Regions from separate parts of the Homo sapiens genome. Here region 2 is linked to region 1. The links are contacts of gene promoters, found by promoter capture Hi-C in human tissues and cell types (Jung and others, 2019). All regions are on one chromosome and are shown on one strand. The core of a region is centred on a gene start or on the middle of the fragment in contact, and the rest is flanking DNA. Distances in the headings are between cores, read along the strand shown.

Evidence for each region. The method cuts DNA at HindIII sites, captures the fragments that hold promoters and counts their contacts. A contact is called where the count stands out against the background at its distance.
Region 2: a fragment that was not itself captured here is called in contact with the fragment with the promoter of NRG2 in region 1 in 1 of the 25 tissues and cell types used here (heart right ventricle).

What each region holds. Positions count from the first base shown.
Region 1 is chr5:140,040,467-140,048,275 of GRCh38, reverse strand. It overlaps NRG2 (neuregulin 2), which reads left to right and starts at 4,977. Exons shown (of 10, transcript NM_004883.3): 1 at 4,977-5,906. The coding sequence starts at 5,207. RefSeq lists silencers at 4,835-5,174, 5,335-5,544 and enhancers at 4,843-5,512, 6,885-7,074. The HindIII fragment of the contact is 7,156 bases long and covers 2,421-7,809 here.
Region 2 is chr5:139,995,876-140,003,684 of GRCh38, reverse strand. The region is part of intron 1 of NRG2 (neuregulin 2); the gene reads left to right. Among named protein-coding and RNA genes, the nearest start is that of NRG2, 44 kb to the left of the region's middle. The HindIII fragment of the contact is 5,645 bases long and covers 475-6,119 here.

The DNA.
Region 1 (7,809 bases), core at 3,728-6,227:
CCCCTTTATCTTTTTTTTTTTTTCCTTTTTGTGGAGAATGGGGTCTCGCTATATTGTCCAGGCAGGTCTTGAACTCCTGGGGTCAAGCTACCCTCCCACCTCTGTCTCCCTAAGAGTTGGGATTACAGGCATGAGCCACTGCACCTGGCCCTTTCTTCCCTTTAGAAAACTCTGCCTAACTCTCCACTTTCTATGGCTGCAGGAATTCTGGTAATCTGCTGGAGTCTCAAAATTTACCTCGGCATTCTAAGTTTATCTGAACAGGATATAATTATAGCAAAATAATTCCCTATGCTTTTTAGCATAAGAATCCCATTTTAAGGTAAAAAGAGTTTTACCCCATATAATAGTAGTTCCCATTATATAGAATATTCTTTCTGTTTATAGAATCCTATATAATAGTAGTTCTACTTTAAGTAGACTTTGAGAAAAACACATGATAAAAATTCAGCAACATTAACAAATTAGAGGATCCCCTCTTAAAATTTTTTTGAATAGCTAGTACATGAACTTGATATAAAATTCACGAGGTACAAAAGGAAATACCATGAAAATATCCTTCTTTCACCCCATCCCTCATTCACACACTGCCCTTCTCCAGAGCCTCCTATTGTTTCAACTTCTGCTGTATCTTTTCAAAGGTAAATTTGCACTACAAACATTTACATATTTCATCTTAAAAAAAGACAAAATGGTAGCATCTTACCACTCTTCTTCATCTTGCTTTTTTTCACTTAGCAATATCTTGTTATATTTTGTTGTACTTTAACATGGATATGTTGAAAAAAAAAGGTGGGGAGCAGGTGTGGTGGTTCACACCTGTAATCCCAGCACTTTGGGAGGCCAAGGCAGGAGGATTGCTTGAGCCCAGGAGTTGGAGACCAGTCTGGGCAAGGCCCTATCTCTACCAAAAAAAAAAAAAGTAATAATAAAGAAAAGAAAAGAAAAGAAAAGAAAACTAGCTGGGTGTGGTGGCATGTGCCCGTAGTCCCAGCTACTTAGGAGGATCACTTGAACCCAGGAGGTCGAGGCTGCAGTGAGCCATGATGGCCCCACTGCACTCCAGCCTGGGCAACAGAGCCAGATCGTGTCTCAAAAGAAAAAGAGAGTCCGGGCGTCGTGGCTCACGCCTGTAATCCCGGCACTTTGGGAGGCTGAGGCAGGCAGATCACCTGAAGTCAGGAGTTCGAGGCTGCTCTGGCCAACGTGGCGAAACCCAGTCTCTACTAAAAATACAAAAATTAGCCAGGCGTGGTAGTGCGTGCCTGTAGTCCCAGCTACTCGGGAGGCTGAGGCAGGAGAATTGCTTAAACCTGGGAGGCAGAAGTTGCAGTGAGCTGAGATCACACCACCGCACTCCAGCCTAGGGGACGGAGACTCTGTCTCAAAGAAAAAAAAAAAAAAAAAAAAGAGGCCGGGCTCAATGGCTCACACCTATAATCCCAGCACTTTGGGAGGCCAAGGCAGGCAGATCACCTGAGGTCGGGAGTTCAAGACCAGCCTGACCAACATGGAGAAACCCCGTCTCTACTAAAAATACAAAAAATTAGCCAGGCGTGGTGGCAGGCACCTGTAATCCCAGCTACTTGGGAGGCTGAGGCAGGATAATCACTTGAACCCGGGAGGTGGAGGTTGCAGTGAGCCAAGATCACACCATTGCACTCCAGCATGGGCAACAAGACCAAAACTCTGTCTCAAAAAAAAAAAAATAAGAGAGAGAGGGGAAAATAATATTTTTATTCTTCATGACATGTGCTGTTGAAAAATTGTATCGCCTTTTTTTTTTTTTTTTTTTTGAGACAGTGCTCTGTTGCCCAGGCTGGAGTGTAGTGTCATGAGGCTCACTGCAACCTCTGCCTCCTGGGTTCTAGCATTTCTCCTGTGTCAGCCTCCCAAGTAGCTGGGATTATAGGGGAGCGCCACCACGCCTGGCTAATTTTTTTTTTGGTAGTAGTAAAGATGGGGTTTCACCATGTTGGCCAGGTTAGTCTTGAACTCCTGACCTCAAGTGATCCACCCCACTCAGCCTACCAAAGTGCTAAGATTACAGGCATGAGCCACTGCACCCAGCCGCATTTTTTAATATACAGAAAATCCTAGTGAATATTTTTAATATACAGAAAATAAATACCACTTAGAGATTCTCAGCTCTTAGATTGGGAACCACCAGTATAAGTAAAATATTAGTAATCTTCAACTTTAATTTTGGCCCTTACTGTGCACCAGACATTGTTCTAAGCACTTTACATATTATCTCACATAATCCACATCCTCATCATCCTTCTAGTCTCAGCTTAAATGTTATCTCCTCAGAGAAGCCTTCCCTTATCCAAGTAGACCTATCCTCTCCCCTTTCCATTATTCTCTAGCATTTCATCCTGTTTATTTCCTTCAGGACACTCAGCAATACAAGTAATTAGTTACCCATTTGTGTACTTATTTACTGTTGTCTTCCCAGTCAGAGTATGAGCTTTGAGAGCACAGACATGTACTATTGAACAGTTTGGTTCACCACAGTACATCCAGTAACATACAGTGCCTCAGTGCTTGGCACAGAGGAGCCATTCAATTGAATATTTATTGAAAGTACATACTGAGCAAAAAACAGCTTTACGAAGTAGACCCTATTATTTTCTCCTTCATACTGATAAGGAAACTAAGGCCTAGAGAGTGAAATAGACTCATCCCAAAGTTGGTAAGTCACAGAGTTGCTTTAAAACCCAGCTCTGCTGGGCTCCAGAGCACAAGCTCTTCACTATGACCCTGGTCTCAGGAACAGAAGACTGAGTTCAGTCCTGGCTGTGTGAAATGTTGAGTAAGTCCCCTATCCCCTCTGGGACTTTTTCTTTCATTGTAAAATGAAAGAGTGGATGTCGCTATCTTCCTTATGGTGATGTTTTGTGATTTATGAGGTCTGTGATCTATGAAAATGAAATGGGGGACACTGAAGGAGCCAAGAAGATTGGCTTGATGCCTTTAAGCGTGCCGATTTTCAGTTATTTTCTTCCTTCTCTCCTTCTTTCACTGGAGATTTGCTAATCCTTATTTTATGCCAGGCATTGTGTTGGAGGTAATAGGAATCCAAAGATGAATAGGATATATATAGTCCCTGACATTAACGTGCCTGGCCTGATGGGAGATGCAGACCCATTAAATGGCTGCTTGAAATACGGTATGGGCCAGTATCCCAACAGTAATACTATGTGTGAAGCTCATGGCAATACAGAGGAGGAAGGGATTAATTCCATCATGTATGTGTTGGTGGGAGTAGAGGTGGATATGTAGGAAGGGGGATGCGGTATAATGCTGAGCTGGGCCTTGGGAAAATAAGTTTTCCATGTGGTCAAGGTGGAGGTGAGGCTTTCTGGACACAAGAGACATCATGTGCAGAAGCACACCAAGAAAGAGCATGAAGTGCTGAGGATTGCTAGAGTGGGGGGTTGGCTCTCAGGATATGAAGCTGGCTAGGCAAAGGGAGCCCATGAAGAGCCTTGCTGAGGAGTTTGAACTTAACTTCTGAGAGCAGTAGCATGGCCAAATTGTACTTACATTTTATTTTTAGAAGGATCACTCTGGCATTGGTAGGACTGGAGATAGGTGATGAGGTGAAAGGAGTGGAGACCAGTTAGAAGGCTTAGAAGTTGTCCAGGTGAGAGATGATGAGGGCTTGGACTTAAGGTATTTGCAGCAGAGTTGGAGTGGAAGTAGATAAATTGGAGATTATTTTAAAAGAGAGACCCAAAGGCCTTGGTGATTAATTGGATGAGGAAGAATAAAAGATGAGATGAAGGGACTTATTGTAATGGATTGATGTAGTCTAAAAGAATAAAACAGTGGCATTAATAATTATAGGGGATTTGGAGTGAAGTGGAAGAAATAATGATGTTGGCTTTGGATGTATTGAGTTTAAGATGTCTCTTAGCTAGGAGGAAAGGTGTAGCTCTCTCTACTTCCTTTCCAGAATAGCAGTCCTAGCCTAAGTCACTCATCCTTGGACCAGTTTCCTGTGGAGCCCAGTGCGGTATAAAATTCCCCAAGAGCTCACTGGCATTCCTGAGCTCCACATCCTTCAAGGTTAAAAGCTGGGTGTTGAAAACTCCCTGGACCCTCATTGATAGGCTAATGGATTATGGACCTGTGTGTGTGTGTGTGTGTGTGTGTGTGTGTTTTAAATCAGATGCTGGCTCCAGTGCAGCAAACTCTTCTGCCTCTTGCAAGCATCAGCCTTGGAAACAAAACAAAACAAAACAAAAAAAACCTTTTTTATGGAGCAGCCTCTGGCCCTGACAGGCTCTGGCTCTCTGTTGGCTCCCAAGAAGCCCCCCACCTTTCTTAGAGATCAGATTTTTAAAAGATGAGGTTGTACAGTGCTCAGCCAGATCCCCACGTGGCCGCTGAAGAAAGCCCAGAGTGTTGGGGACTGGGCCCTTTCTCAGCTACCACCTCTGCTTGGGTGTCCTCAATGCTAAGACAAGACACCTTGTGGCCCAACTCTTTCCAAAATGACGGGGCTGGGATTCTCCCCCACCTCAAGTCGAATATCCAGCGTTCACCAGGCGGTGGCAGGACCGAGCACGTGGTATCATTTAGGGGCTGGGCTCCAGGGTCCTCCTAGGAAAGAGGACAGCCCAAGAGGCGAGAGGCTGGCCGGCCACCCTGGCCATGGCAACCTCTCTGGCTCCTACAGCTGCTGGCCAAAGGCAGGGGGCACGCCCTGCGTCCCATTACCACGTTCATAGGATGGTGCCAGGAGCCCGTTATCTCTTCTTCGCCTTCTCCTCACGCACCACCCCCACTGTCATGCCGATAAATCCCGGGAGCAAAGGGTGGCACGATTCCTCCCGCGCCCCTGCGGGCTGAAGGCGGGCACTAAAGCAGTGCAGTCCCAAGCTTCCCCTGCAGAAGCCGCGCTCCCTACTCGGTCCGGGGGCAGAGGGGGCGCGAGAGAGCAAGTGGGCGGGCGTCCCATCCTCCGCATCCTCCTCCAGGTCCTGGCGCACAGGGTGGGAGCGCTGCGCTGCGCCGCGCTGCGCATCGCGGCCCGCTTGCCGCCTGCCCCCTGCCCTAGCTGGGCCACCTCCCCGGGCTGCCGGTGGAGGGCTAAGAGGCGCTAACGTTACGCTGTTTCCGGTTTTCCAGCGGGCTCTGTTTCCCCTCCCAAGGCGGCGGCGGCTGAGCGGCGGAGCCCCCCAAATGGCCTGGCCAGATGCGGCAGGTTTGCTGCTCAGCGCTGCCGCCGCCGCCACTGGAGAAGGGTCGGTGCAGCAGCTACAGCGACAGCAGCAGCAGCAGCAGCGAGAGGAGCAGCAGCAGCAGCAGCAGCAGCAGCGAGAGCGGCAGCAGCAGCAGGAGCAGCAGCAACAACAGCAGCATCTCTCGTCCCGCTGCGCCCCCAGAGCCGCGGCCGCAGCAACAGCCGCAGCCCCGCAGCCCCGCAGCCCGGAGAGCCGCCGCCCGTTCGCGAGCCGCAGCCGCCGGCGGCATGAGGCGCGACCCGGCCCCCGGCTTCTCCATGCTGCTCTTCGGTGTGTCGCTCGCCTGCTACTCGCCCAGCCTCAAGTCAGTGCAGGACCAGGCGTACAAGGCACCCGTGGTGGTGGAGGGCAAGGTACAGGGGCTGGTCCCAGCCGGCGGCTCCAGCTCCAACAGCACCCGAGAGCCGCCCGCCTCGGGTCGGGTGGCGTTGGTAAAGGTGCTGGACAAGTGGCCGCTCCGGAGCGGGGGGCTGCAGCGCGAGCAGGTGATCAGCGTGGGCTCCTGTGTGCCGCTCGAAAGGAACCAGCGCTACATCTTTTTCCTGGAGCCCACGGAACAGCCCTTAGTCTTTAAGACGGCCTTTGCCCCCCTCGATACCAACGGCAAAAATCTCAAGAAAGAGGTGGGCAAGATCCTGTGCACTGACTGCGGTGAGTCGCCCCCTCCCTTTGCTGGAGAAAGGGGGGAGGGGCGAGGTGGTGGAGAATGGGGGTGGGGCGGGGAGGTGCTGCAGGTGCCCGGGCCTGGCAGCGTCCGGGCGCTGGGGGGGTGGGGCCGCCCCTGGGCAGGGCGCCTGGCACGGGTGGGTGAGGGGGTTGGGGTTGGAGAGAAGAAGGATCAGGCTCAAAGTGTGCCAGGGGTGGGGGGCGGAGGGAGGCGCTGGCCTGTGCCAGCGGGGATCTGCGGCTGATGTATGGCATGTGGGGCTGGAAAGCTGCCATCATAGCCCAGTAGCGGAAGGAAAAACGGAGAGGTCCTGGCGGTGCTGGCCTGAGGCTCAGTGAGTCAGGAGTGACCCTCGGAGGCCTTGCCTGCCCTGCTGCCGCGGGCCTGCCGTGCCCAGGCTGGCAGGGTCTGCGGGAGCAGCTGGGCAGACTCCCAGGCTGTGAAGGCCTCCGCTTACAAGTTCTCCTAGGGAATGGTCGCCCCCGCCCCCTCCTTCCTCTCCTGGGCTCGTTGCTCTGCTCATCCACACCGCTGGCGCAGGCAGAGTTGGACTTTTTCTGCTACTGTTTTCCGTCCTCCATGTGGCTCCAGTTTTTTTCTTCATCGTGATTGCCTGTCTTTGCTAAGCAGGTAGCACATCCTTCTCTTAAGACTAGCAAGCAGACACCTTTTTTTTTTTTTTTTTTTAGCTGTTTCTGGGGGAATTACAAGGTCTGTTGATTGTGATGATGATGAAAGAGAGTAACTTCTGCTGAATGCTTTAAGTTCAGCTCTAACGTCTTACTCGCCGGATGTATTTGACTGCATCTCTCATCTTCATGATGTTGGATGCTGCACAGGAATGCAGGTGATTAGAAACAAAACACTGAAATCTGTAGATCTCTGCAGCTGGGAATGGAAGTCTCCCATGTCAAAAGTCAAAGAAATGTCAGTCTAAGAGCTTTTTCTTCTTGTCCCTGAATCCAGTACTTACTTCTTAGTAAGATATTTCAAATCAAATTGTCCCACACTGGAGTATTTGGTGTAAGCCTGTCTCGTGCTTATTCAAATTGAGGTTTCGTTTTGTCCCAACTAAAGCTGAATTTGTTGGCATGCGGTATGACTTGCTGGACTGTGTAATCGCTGAATTATGATAGATGTCCTGTACTCTCATAGAAGTTGGTATGTTTACCAGTTTTACCAACTGATTCTGGGTAGTGTAGACAGGCTTTGTTTGAGTAGCAAAATATGTGTAACAGCTTATAGTAAGTTTTGCTGCCTTCATCTTTCTAGATCGATACCTATGATTTTTGGAAGCTTTCCTCCCCCACCCCCTTCAGGAGGCAAATTTTAGGAGTTTAGTGATGGGAGTATATCTAGACACTAACTATGTTAAACTGTGATCACTTTAATGAGAAGAATCTTGGCAATGTCTTAATAAGGAGGGGAAAACTTTGGGGGATAACAGCAGTTTATCGCTCTGACATTATCCTTAGGAATATTGTTGACTGCTTTTTATTATTGGTTTTATGTTCTGAAATGTTTTATAAAGACAAGTAGAGACCAGCTAAGAATTTCTAATTTTTTATTCTATTAAGTATTTTGATACTTGGGGAGTATTAAAATACTCTGAGATGCCTTGGGGAGCTGTGAAACAGTATTGTACAGTGGAAAATAGATAGTAAAAATATTTATTGAATCTTGTCCAAGGACAGCTTCTGTTTGGTTGTTGGTGAGTTGCTCCTGCATTTGCACAGTGTACATCTCCACATAATCCCTAGTCTGGGCCGCTGAGGACTTGATGGTCTTTGTCAGATAACCCCATAGAGTAACTGGCTTCTCTGCTCCCTTGTCTCCCTCCTCCTACTTTCTCCTTCCCCCAACACAATACACCTTATCAATTACACA
Region 2 (7,809 bases), core at 2,048-4,547, 43 kb after region 1:
CAATTTAGTGGCTTAAAGCAACCCAGATTCATTATCTTACAATTCTGGAGGTCAGAAATCCAAAATCAGTCTTAGTGGGCTCAAATCAAGGTGCTGGCAAGACCGTGTTCCTTCTGGAGGCTCTATGGGAGAATTTGTTTTCTTGCCTTTTCCAACTCTTAGAGGTCACCTGCATTCCTTGGCTCCATTTTCCACCTTCAAAACCAGCAGTGTAGTGTCTTCCAACCCCTGTCTCTCTGACTCTAATCCTCCTACCTCCCTCTTACAAGGAAACTTGTGATTACAGTGGGCCACTCACATAATCCAGTATCCTTAATTTAATCACATCTGCAATTTCCTTTTTGCCCTGTTAGGTAAAATACTTACAGGTTCCAGAAATTAGGATATGAACATATTGGGGGAGGGGGGCACTGTTCTGACTACCACACTCTTCATCTCTTTCTATCTCTGTATAATTACATCTTGTTTTATTTGCATTTCTTTAGTCAGGACTCCCACTGATGAAGTAGCAGCTTGTCTTGAGCATGGTTTTTCTGATCAGTGATCTATATTGGTCAATTTATGAAGAAGCACATTTAGTACCTCTTGTGTTGCCAGGCACTGTAGCTGAAAAGGAGAATTTGTCAGTTGATGGGAAAAAAAGTTGCCTGGATGTCTCTTGTAATCTTCCCCAGTTCAAAAAATGTTAAGACCAGTTATTCAGGTCAAAAATCTTGGAGCCATCTGGGATTCTCCTCTTCTTTCACTCCACATCTAATCCTTTTACAAATCCTGTACATTCTACCTTCAGAATACATCCAGAATCCAACTAGTTCTCATCACCTCCCCAATTATCCACTTGGTCCAAGACACCATTATCTCTTGCCTAGTTGTTTTAATAGCCTTCAAATTGGTCTCTCTGCTTCCACCCTTGCCCCTCTTCGGTCTATTCTGAACACAGCAGTCTGACTGACAAATAAAAAAAACTCGTGTGATTCTCCTGCTGTAAACCTCAGAGAGCTTTCTTTCTCACCCAGAGTTGATGACTGAAGGCTCACTTGCATGTTTTGGTCTGTGACCTCTCTGACTCCGGCTCCTACGTTCTCCCTTCAGTTCTCCTGCTTTCTCCGACTTGGCCCTTACTGTTATTTTCTGAACCTGTCAGACATGTTCCTGTCTCCAGCTTTTGGTATTTATTGTTCACTCTACTTGGAATATGCTTAACCTAAAAATCCGTGTGGCTCATTTCCTTACTTCTTTCACCCCTTCAAATTCTGCCTTTTCAAGGAGGATTTCCCAGCTATCCTATCTAAAATTGCAACCCCATAACCCTCCCAACCCTACTCTGTTTTATTTTTCACCTCAGCTCTTATCATTATCTGACATCATATTTTACCAACTTTTCTTATAAATGATGTTTACCTCTTTCCACTAGAATTGGAGACTTCAAGAGGACAAAAAATTTTGTCTTTTTTTCCCCTGTCACAGCTCTAATATTTATTTATTTACTTTATTATTTTTTGAGACAGGTTCTTTCTCTGCCACCCAGGCTGGAGTACAGTGGCATGATCATGGCTCACTGTAGCCTTGACCTCCCAGGCTCAAGTGACCCTCCTGCCTCAGCCTCCTGAGTAGCTGGGACCACAGGCTCATGCCACCATGCCCGGCGAATATTTTTATTTTTTGTAGAGACAGGGGTCTCCCTATGTTGCCCAGGCTGGTCTCAAACTCGTGGGCTCAAGGAACCCTCCCACCTTAGCCTTCCAAAGTGCTGGGATTACAGGCATGAGCCACTATGCCTGGCCTCCTTAATTATTTTAATTTTTAAAATTTACTTATTTTAGAGACAGGGTCTTACTCTGTCACCAAGGTTGGAGTGCAGTGGTGGGATCATAGCTCATTGCAGCCTCAAACTCTTGGGCTTACACGATCCTACAGCCTCAGCCTCCCAAGTAGCTAGGACTGCAGGTACATGGCACTATGTCTGGCCATTTTTTTTTTTTTTTGGTGGAGATAGGGTCTTGCTATTTTTCCCAGGCTGGTCTTGAACTCCTGGCCTCAAGCGATCCTCCCACCTTGCCCTGCCAAAGTGTTAGGATTACACACATGAGCCACCAAGCCCAGCTCACATCTCTAGTATTTAGAATAGTGCTTGGCAAATAGCAGGTACTCAATAATTATTTGTAGAATGAATTATATCTGCTTTTATAATTGGGCTATATATTTATCAATTGCTTCCTGAGGCATATAAGGTACAATGCTATATGTTTTGGAGGATAAAAAATAAATTAAGACATGATCTGTATTTTCAAATTGCTTATAATTTGGTTAGGGTAATGAGATAACCATGTGTGAAAAAACTAATGGTATCACTACCATAAGCTGTAGGTATGTATTAAATACGCTTAAGTATGGGGCACCGTGGTAGGTACTAGGGACAAACAAATATGCCATACACGATTTCTTCTTTCAAGCTTTTTTAGGCTAGTTATGAGGACACAAAGGAAAACAAGCTCTACCCGACTGGATGAGCCAAGTGCTAATAAATGGTATGGATACCGATGGGAGATCAGAGGGAGAGGAGTCCAGTAGCAGGGCCTGCAGCAGCAGGCTTCGTGTCACAGGTCTCTTCTGAACTGGGTCTGGAAAATCCAGGGAACTCTGAGAGGTCTGATGTAGCTAGAACATGGGGCGTGAGGGTGGAGAAAAGGCAGAAGACGAGGCTATCAAAGTAGGTCACAGAGAGATCGAGAAGGACGTTGAGTCCTATGTTACAGTTTGATGTCATTCTGTAGGTGGTAAGAAGCCACTGACGTTTTTGAAGAGGGGATTGAAACCATCACATCTGACGTTGACAGAGATGGATTAGAATGGATTGAAGCTAGGGAGAGCAGTTAGGAAGTTCCTATAGGAATCTATGGCCGCTCCTCTGCCCACTGCCTTCAGCTTCCAGAGCAATAGTGCAGACCAAGCCAATCCTGGCTGCAGCAGGAGGAGGTGTGGTGCCTGGGGAACATTTTCGAGAGCTCCGAAGAGAGCCGACAGAGTGCAGGAAGGAGGCATGCAATGCCTGAGAGCCAAGTTCAGCTCAGCTCTATTTTGGGTGACAACATTTACAATGTTCCTTCACCCAGAATCATTCCGCCTGCCTGCCCGCCTTCGGTGTTTCCAGCTGATGGGTTCTCACGCCTACTTAACAACTGGCTTGGTTCAGGGGCTCCCTGGCTCACCGACTGCTGCCCTTCAGTCCTCTCCCTCTTTGGCAGGATGCCTAAGTCCTTGGAGTGGCTAGAGTGCTAAGCCTGGTCCTCCATGCCTCTGCGGCAGGGGAAGCTGGAAGGGTAGTGCAAAAGCTCGAGGAAGGGAGGGGTGGTACTGCTAAATGCCAGAGTTCAAGCACAGAGGTGTGTAGGCAATTGACTCGCAGTTCTGTGCTTCACTTCCTCTGAAAGACCAAATTATAAGGGAGAGAATGCCTGATAATAATATTTTGTGTTTCCACATATCTTGTCTGAGAACCTCCAGACTCAAGATCTAGATTCTGCTGTTGTCCCAGATTACCTCATTAACTGAATCTGTGGGCGTTTATAGGTCATTTTTAGGGCTCTGTGGATATCATAGTGTAGAAGAGACAAATGTTGTTTTTTTATAATTAAAAACCTAAGAGTATTACACATTCATTGTAGAAAATGCATGAGCGTATAAAGAAAAGAATAAAAATAACCCATCATCCCATCACTTAGCGAGAGCTCTGGCTAATAGTTTGATGTTTCTTCCTGCTTGTTTTCCCCTGGGCATGTGTCTGTTTGTGTGTGGCACATATGCATGTCAGATATCCCCAGGTTCCCTCTGGGTGGGTATAGATTGGGGCACCCACCCTCAGCACTGAAATGTTCTCACCCAGAGTATATTTCCCATGTAGTCTGGATAATTTCCCTCCTGTCATTCTCCTTGGATTTCTCTCCTGTGATTCTCCTCTTTCAAAAGTGAAAGGATGCTCCTTGTAAAGACTGTTCTTCCAGGAGGGACCGATGTTTGGAGGAGCTCAGCATGGGACACTGCACAGTGGGGAAAATGAGACTGAAGCTGTACTATAATCATTCTTCTTGAACAATGATTCCAAAGTGCTACCAGGTACGAACAGAGAACGTCTGGTCCCTTCTCTCATTCCATGAGGCTTGCTGGATAGGGCAATGCAGGCCAGGTTTGCCACTGAGTTGAATAACTGGACCTGGTGGATTATTGAGGAGCCTGGTGCATTACAGAGAAAACTTTTCAGAGCAACTTGGCATCCCTTGAAAAAATATGCTAAGTCACCATAGAACCTCCAACCAGTTTGTAAACACCAGATTCTCTACTGATATTTTGGGTCAGATTCACCAGAAAGCAGAATCTAATACAAGAATTGGGTGCAGATAGTTTGAGAGGTAATTGCAAGAAGCAGGAATGAGGAAACGGCATAAGGGGAATGAGGCAGGAATAGAGGATAAACTGTTATTAGGGTGTATTATTAAGGTTCCTACTGTGTGCAGTGGGGACTTAATTCCACCAGAACTTCAGGAGAACGACACAGAATGCCTCATGGAGTTGTCTGCTTGAAGGATGAGGAACTCCAGCTAGCTTCTGTCCCCCACTGGCTGAGCCTCGTCCTTAGGACAGTGAAGTCCCTAGAGGGTTGTGTGTTTGAGGTGTGACTTTCAAGCAGGAAGTGGATCTGAACTCGCATAGGACAGCTGTGCTGAAAGAGGTGGTGGGGCAAGGGGCTTGTGATGTAGGATTCAGAGTCTTCTGCTATAATCTAGGAAATTTAGAAGGCTTCTTGGTTTCACTGATTTGAGCAAGTTTTTTCTCTTGTCTTAACTCCTCTTCCTATCTTCCCCTATTCCTATAATTCTCTAGTCTTACCCATATTTCAAGTAACAGTATGGTTCTTTGCCCTTGGATGGTAGATAGTGTTTGTTTGTTTGTTTTTAGCCAATTACAACATTCTGACTCATAATTCTAAGCTCATAATTTTTTCAGACTCGTCAGGAGCAAGCATTGGGCCTCTTGAGCATTGAGATTCTCTACTTTTGGTGACTAGAGTTCTGTACTTCTTTCCACATCACTAGTAGAGACCAAACTTGGAGAATTTGAGGGAATGAGAACAGTAGAAGGCGTGAGGCAGGCTATCTTCACCTGCAGTCCCATGGCTAGATTGGGTCCCAGTTTGGAACTGGAGCAGATCTTGTGTGGCTTTGGTCTGGGGTTGATTGCCAGTAGATGGGAACACAGGCTTCCTGAGTATACCTGAGATGGTCACGTGGCCGGCCCTCCAGGACTTTCTTGGCCTTGGGTTGGTCTGGATATACAAATGTTGAACATAATAGAAGCACTTTTCCAGCCCTCTGGGGTTTTGTTCAGAACAATATTCTGACCTGCTCTTCTGTGGGGAGTATTGGCATTGGTCTTTCATCTTTCCAGAGTAGAAACTAGAGGCCCAAAGAAGTTAAGTGGTTTACCCAAGGTGGTGTCATTTTTCACTGGTAACAGAGAGAGCTAGAACCAAGGCCTCCTGACTTCCAATCTAGAGTCTTTGACTTTTGACTCCACACCTCCACTCCCACCCCTTGCCACCAATGTAGAAACAGGGTATTTTTGTTCCTTGTTCTATCTCTCACTTTGGACTCCTAGCCAGATTATAACTCTGTGAAGGGAGGACCCAGGCCCCACGTACCCCACTCCTCTGAGCCCAGGTCTAGCCAGAGCAAGTGTTTAACAAAAGCTTCCTAATTTACCTAGAGGGGCAATCCTCAGGGCAGCTGGCTCCTCCCCAGCGGGAAACCCGGCCCATGGCCCTCTCTTAGTTCCAGGCTCCATGGAGAGGGGAACCATGTCCATCTGTGATAGACCTCAGCTTGTAGGCAGCAGGCTTGGAAGTTCTACCTTCTTGATAAGCAGGATTCACATGCTGGCTGTTCTCAGGAATTTGCTTCATTCTAGGGCCCATTGAGGGCTGAGTGAGGGTGTCCTCACTGACTCCTGAGCCCTTGGCCCTGGGGGCTGGTTTCTATCTATTTCTGCTATTTGCCAGATGATGCCCCATACAGCAGAGTCAGCTCTGCCATGTCTGTCCTCAGTCTAGGATTAGACAGTGGTGTCTTCCCTTAACCTTTGGGGGCAGACCTGTATTGTTGACCTTTGCTCTTCCCTCTTTCACTAAAGAGCATGTAAAGTACTGTTTGAAGATAAAGGCAGCTTACTAGTTAACCCCTTAGAGCCAGCACTGGCAGTCCATGTATCAAATGGTCTTCGTAAGATTATTCCAGTTATTTCTGCTGCTCTTTGAGTTATAGTCAGAATTTTGATTGTTTAGGGCCAAAGAGATGAGTCTGGGTCAAAGGCAGAGTGCTGAGCTTTAGTAGTGCCTCTGGGTGGGTAAAGGAAGGGTGGGTTTTTTTCTAGTTCCTCATTCCCAGTGACTACCCATAAATCTTAATTAAAATTGGAGGAGTTCTCCTCCATGTTCCCCTCAAGCTTTTCTTTTATTTTTATTTCCATTTTTTATTTATTTATTTTGTGGTGACACAGGATCTCATTCTGGTTGCCCAGGCTGGTGTGCAGTGGTGCGATCTTGGCTCACCACGGCCTCGACCTCCCAAGCTCAGGTGATCCCCCCACCTCAGCCTCCTGAGTAGCTGGGACTACAGGCATGTGCCACCATGCCCTGCTAATTTTTTGTATTTTTAGTAGAGACAGGGTTTCACTGTGTTGCCCAGGCTGGTCTTGAACTCCTGGACTCAAGCAATCTGCCCCCCACCCCCATCGGCTTCCCAGAGTGCTGGGATTATAGGCGTGAGCCACCACGTCTGGCCACCCCCTCAATCTTTTAAATGAAATAATTTAACAAATATTTGAGAGCTAATTACATGTGCCATCATTTTGGGACTAAAAGAGGTAATTGATGGGATCTCTGCCTTCAAGGGTCTTACGGTATACTTGGAGAGACAAGCGGCATATGTGGCAAAGACCACACTAGACAGGTGTGAAGGGCAGGCCTGCTAAGCAGGGCATCAGAGTACTTGGGAGAGAGAGAGAAAGCACTTTGGATGGATCTGGTTAAGAGAAGCCTTCTTGGAAGAAATGAGATTTCAGTCAGGTCCCTGAAGATACGTGTTTTCTTTACAACAGGTTTATGGGTATCTCTCTTTGTGGTAAGACTTTATTGCACATTCAACAATGACAACAATTTAAGGATCCTGGGGACAAGGTTATTTTGTTCCTAGATGTTCATTATAGTATTGTTCATAATAGCCAAAGATTGGAAACAACTTAAGTATCCAGTGATGAGGCATCGGTTAACTAGACTGTGGTCTCCCGTATTCCCCATGTTGTGGAATATTTTGTAGCCATCATACATCATTTTTGCAGAAGTTTATTTATTGACATCAAAGAATATTCACAATAGGTTGTTCATTGAAAAAAATCAGGTTCCAAAGTACTATGTACAGTATGAGTCCATTTATATTTGTTAACAGTAACAAACAAAACATGGCTTCTTAAAATCTTTTTGCTTACTCATTTTCTGATTTTTGCTACATGTGCATTAACTTGTAAATAAAATAACCTTCTGTGCTTATTCATTTGAGGATGAAATAAATAAATAACTTTCTGATGTTTTCCCTTCTTTTCTTTCTTTTTTCTTTTTTTAGAGACAGGGTCTTTCTCTGTCACCCAGGCTGGAGTGCAGTTGTGTGATCATAGCTCATGGTAGCCTCAAATTTCTCGGCTCAAGCCATTCTCCTATTTCAGCCTCCTGAGTACCTAGGACTACAAGCACATGCCACCATG